Linked DNA regions of Homo sapiens: region 1 is linked to region 2. The links are contacts of gene promoters, found by promoter capture Hi-C in human tissues and cell types (Jung and others, 2019). All regions are on one chromosome and are shown on one strand. The core of a region is centred on a gene start or on the middle of the fragment in contact, and the rest is flanking DNA. Distances in the headings are between cores, read along the strand shown.

The links. The method cuts DNA at HindIII sites, captures the fragments that hold promoters and counts their contacts. A contact is called where the count stands out against the background at its distance.
Region 1: a contact is called between a fragment that was not itself captured here and the fragment with the promoter of ZNF331 in region 2, in 1 of the 25 tissues and cell types used here (aorta).

Annotation. Positions count from the first base shown.
Region 1 is chr19:53,142,329-53,145,028 of GRCh38, reverse strand. It overlaps ZNF347 (zinc finger protein 347), which reads left to right. Exons shown (of 5, transcript NM_032584.3): 5 at 2,473-2,700. Among named protein-coding and RNA genes, the nearest start is that of ZNF415, 11 kb to the right of the region's middle. The HindIII fragment of the contact is 4,843 bases long and covers 1-2,700 here.
Region 2 is chr19:53,536,752-53,539,451 of GRCh38, reverse strand. It overlaps ZNF331 (zinc finger protein 331), which reads right to left and starts at 1,307. Exons shown (of 6, transcript NM_001079906.2): 1 at 1,156-1,307; 2 at 170-236. RefSeq lists enhancers at 1,228-1,277, 1,063-1,579. The HindIII fragment of the contact is 21,395 bases long and covers 532-2,700 here.

The DNA.
Region 1 (2,700 bases), core at 154-2,653, 390 kb after region 2:
TGTGAGCCATCACGCCCAGCCATGTTTGTGTATCTTCTGAGGCTCTTCTTGTTGGTTTCTAGTGTTATTTTATTGTGGTCAGAAAAGATACTAGATACAATTTTGACTTTTTTGAATTTATTGAGACTTGTTTGGTGTCTTAACATATAATCTATCCTGAAGCATAATCCATGTGCTGATGAGAAGAATATGTATTTTGCAACAGCTGGATAAAATGGTCTGTAAACGTCTGTTAGGGCATGGAACATACCTGTAATTTTAGCTACTTGGGAGGCTGAGGAGAGAGGAATGCTTAAGGCCAGAAGTTCAAGGCTGCAGTGCACTGTGAACTCACCTGTGACTAGGCAATGGACCACAGCCTGGGCAACATAGGGAGATCCCATCTGTTTAAAATAGAAAAAAAATTTAAAAAGTCTTTTTTTAGGTCCATTTAGTCTGCAGTATATTTTAACTCTAATTTTTTTTTTATTGGTTTTCTGCCTGGATGACCTATTCATTACCAAAAATTGTGTTTTGAAGTCCCCTAATATTATTGTATTGCTACCTGTCTCTCCCTTTAGATTTATTAACATTAGCTTTACATATTTGGGTGTGTACTTATTTATTATGTCCTTTTGCTAAGTTGATCCTTTTCTCATTATATACTGACTTTGTCTCTTTTTACACTTATTGACTTAAAGTCTATTTTATCTAAGTATACCTACTACTGCTCTTTTTTGATTTCTAGTTCCATGAAATATCTTTTTCCATCCCCTCACTTTTTGTCTACATGTATCCTTATAGGTGAAGTGAGTTTGTTGTAGGCAACATATAGTTAGCTGTATGTTTTATAATCCATTCAGCAGGCCTCTCTCTTGTAATTGGAAAATTTAGTCCATTTCTATTTAATGTTATTATTGATAGGTAAGGACTTATACTACCAGAGAAATCACTTAAACACAAAGGAAGACAGTAAGAAAGAAAGCAAGAGAGAAGTTAGAAAACAATTAGAAAAGAAGTAACAAAACGGCAGTATGTTTTAATTCATTGCTTTTTATTATTAATATGTCTATTACAGGCTTTTACTTTGTGGTGACCATAAAATAAGGCTTACGTCTCACACCAGTTAGAATGGCGATCATTAAAAAGTCAGGAAACAACAGGTGCTGGAGAGGATGTGGAGAAATAGGAACACTTTTACACTGTTGGTGGGACTGTAAACTAGTTCAACCATTGTGGAAGTCAGTGTGGCGATTCCTCAGGGATCTAGAACTAGAAATACCACTTGACCCAGCAATCCCATTACTGGGTATATACCCAAAGGATTATAAATCATGCTGCTATAAAGACACATGCACACGTATGTTTATTGTGGCACTATTCACAATGGCAAAGACTTGGAACCAACCCAAATGTCCAACAATGATAGACTGGATTAAGAAAACGTGGCACATATACACCATGGAATACTATGCAGCCATAAAAAATGATGAGTTCATGTCCTTTTTAGGGACATGGATGAAGCTGGAAACCATCATTCTCAGCAAACTATCGCAAGGACAAAAAACCAAACACCGCATGTTCTCACTCACAGGTGGGAATTGAACAATGAGAACACATGGACACAGGAAGGGGAACATCACACTCTGGGGACTGTTGTGGGGTGGGGGGAGGGGGGAGGGATAGCATTAGGAGATATACCTAATGTTAAATGACGAGTTAATGGGTGCAGCACACCAACATGGCACATATATACATATGTAACTAACCTGCACATTGTGCACATGTACCCTAAAACTTAAAGTATAATAAAAAATAAATAAATAAATATAAAAACATCCTATAGCTTTTAACAATTTATCTCAAATCAATATCAACTAACTTTGATTGCAAAAAAAGAAACTAAAACCTCTGTGCATGTTCGTTCCCTTCTCACCCTGCATTTTGAATTTTTTATGTCGCAATTTATGTTGTGTACTGCCTATCACTTAACAAACTGTTGTGCTTATTTTTAATAGTTTTATCTTTTAGCCCTCTTAGTAAATATACAAATGGTTTGCACACCATGATTATGATATTAATATTAGTGTAACAGTTACATCGTGTCATTTTCTTTGGATTTGAAGAACTCCCTTTATCATTTCTTGTAAAACAGGTCTGATCATGGTAAATTCCCTTAGCTTTGTTTGTCTGGGGAAGACTTTCTCTCCTTTATGACTGAACGATTGCTTTGCTGGCTACAGTATTGTAGGTTGGGAACTAGGCTTCCATACTATTAATTTGAATTACATGGAATCAACTTTATTAAACAATCCTCTTTCCTTTGTGTTCCTAAAAATTGAATATTATTGTTCTGAAGTTTCATAAATCTGTTTAATATAAGAATTGCTTTTGGTTTAATATTGTTTTTCGGTGTAATATTGTTTTTCGGTGTAAAATACTTGTTTACGTACTACAATTAATTGGAAACCTATGGATCTTTATATCTTGTAGCTCTCTCTTCCGAATTTGTAATGAAAGATTTACTACACAAAGGGAAGAGTAATACAGGAGAAGTATTCCAAACAGTGATGTTGGAAAGACAGGAAAGCCAAGACATTGAAGGATGTTCCTTCAGGGAAGTCCAGAAAAATACACATGGCCTTGAGTATCAATGCAGAGATGCTGAAGGAAATTACAAAGGAGTGCTTTTGACCCAAGAAGGCAATCTCACTCATGGAA
Region 2 (2,700 bases), core at 58-2,557:
GGGTTTTATGCGTGTTAATGCATTTCACCCTCCTCACAAGCCTATCTTCAGAAGGCTCAAAAAGCTAAGAGGCAGAAACAGGACTCAAATCTTGGTCATCTACCTTTAATGTTTGGTCTTAAGTCTTATAAACACATATCATTTAATATAAAAAAAAAAGGATACTCACCTGACCCTTTCAGATGTTTAACGATTCGTCTTCCTCCTCGGGGATGCTTTTTCTGAAGGATGCTGGCCTGGGGAAAACAGAACCGGAAGGGTAACACCTGCCATACCTAATAAAACCAATGAGAAATACGAGGCCCCGAGATGGAGTTTCTGGGAGATTCCTGAAGAGCACGCTGTGGCGATTGAGATGATGACGCGTGGAGCTGCCCCCCTCCCTGTCTCCCACATCAGGGACCTGTCCCTCTACAGGAGGAATTCTACTCCTGAGGCCACCGTCCCCTGTCACTCAGGTGGCCTGCATGCACAGCACTTCTGGCTCTGAAAGCGTCACCTCATGGCTGTTTCTGCCTTCTTGCTGGTGAATTTCCAGGCGAGGCTCAGGCGCTCACGTCCCTCCGCGGCCCTTGTTCTCAGGCAGGTACCGCTTGGTTAGGAGGTGAAGGCAGGGGAAGCAGCAGAGACGCTGGAGCTACAAGTTGCACTGTCACACACACCTGCATCACTCAGAAGGCCCGATCATCCATCCCAGCACAGAGACGCTGAAGCTACAGGTTGTGTTGTCACACACACCTGCGTCACCCAGAAGGCCCGATCACCCATCCCAGCACAAGTCTGCACAGCTCAGCCTCACCACAGCTCACTCTGTCCTGAGACACATCTGCGCCCCTCATACCCACTAACGCCCAGCACGGCCATGCTACGGGCCCCACCACCCCACACGGTGCAGAGGTGCATCCGTGGGCCACGGAGACCCGTCCCGACCGCTGCCCCCGCACAACCCCCAGAGCGCACCTCACGGAGCAGAGTCCCAGGGACGCACCGCCGAGGTTCACAGGCACGGGCTGCGTTGACCCAAAGCCTCTGGAGCACCCCCGGTCACCAGTTATGGGGAGAGCCCGGCTGTGTCACCCCACACTCTCCAGCAAGTGCGTCACCGTCAGAAGCCCCGTGCCCGTCTCCCCTCGGAGCCACGCGCACCAATCTCACCTGCGCGGACTGGCGGAGATGCAGCGGCTGCGTCACTGGTGCAAACGCGCACCCAGCACGGCCCCCATCGCCCCCAATGACGCTCGCGTGCACCCGTGTCACAGTTACGGGGACAGGGCCGCCGCGTCAGCCTCGTACTCCCACGCAAGTGCGTCACACACTCGGTCCCGCCACCCCCTGGAGGCCAGCGCGCATGCGCACGCGCACCCAGCGGCCGCAGCGCGCAGACAGCAGCAGAGCCCGACACGCATGTGCACACAGACCCCTACACGTATGTGCACGTACCCAGACCCCGACACGTATGTGAGCGTACACAGACCCCCGATACATAGCGTGCTCAGCTGTTGACGTGCCTGTGCGGGCACACAGACCCTGACGGGCGTGTGCGCACGCACAGATGCCGACACGCATGTGCAGACACAACAGAGCCCGACACACACGTGCGCCTGCACAGATGCTGACACGCGGACACACTGACACGTGTGCGTGCACCCCTCCCATCCCTTTCCCTCCTCCCACTCTCCCAAAGCCGCAGACGCACCCGGTAGTCCCCCAACGCTGGGGCCTCGGGAGAGGGTGAGGCTAGAAGAGGACGCGGGGCCGTCGGGGGAAACCAGAGCCCCAAGCCCCGTGTTCCAGCATGCAGCACGGCGTACTCCTGGATGGTCTCTGGGAAATGTAGTCCGGGACGGTCCCAGGCAGGGGCCTCAGGGCGCGTCCCAGGTCGGTGCCGGAGCGGGCAGCCCCAAGCTAAGCCCTTCCTGGTCCCTGCAGACGCCCCTTCCCGACTGGGAAAGGAGCTGTGTCACCCCAGCTGGGACCCCGTCTGGCCTCTTGAGTGGGGTGATGCCGGGCGAGCCATGGCTGTCCTCAGAAGGGTATCCTCTCCTAGCCCCTCTGGAGCGTCACCTGGAATTCTCTGCAGGCCGCTAGCACAGGCTGCCGGAGCTGCTATTCGGTGTCCCTTGCTTGCTGCATTGTAAACAATGTACAGGTAGCAGTTATGCCCCGTGAGTCCCGCTCTCATTCCAAGTACTAACGTCACAGGGTCTACAGGATGTTGCAGGTACTTAACCACAGTCTCATTTTGACTCAAAATCCCACTTTTTGGTATTTATGCCAAGGAAGTAGCTATAGTTGTACACAATGTTGAAGTATGTTCACAAAATGCTTTTTTTCTGAAAATCTTTTTCTCTTTTAATTAGATAGACTTTAGATTCATATGTAGTTACAAGAAATAAAATTGAGAGATCTTGTGTACCTTTCACCTGGTTACCTCAGCTGGTGATTGTAGTATATAATACCACAACCAGAAGATTAACATTGATGTAATCCACTGACGTTACCCAGAATTTCCAGAGAATAATTTTTTGTTTGTTTGTTTGTTTGTTTTGAGACGGAGTTTCGCTCTTGTTGCCCAGGCTCAAGTGCAATGGTGCGATCTCGGCTCACTGCAACCTCCGCCTCCTGGGTTCAAGGGGTTCTCCTGCGTCAGCCTCCCCAGTAGCTGGGATGACAGGCATGCGCTACCACGCCCGGCTAATT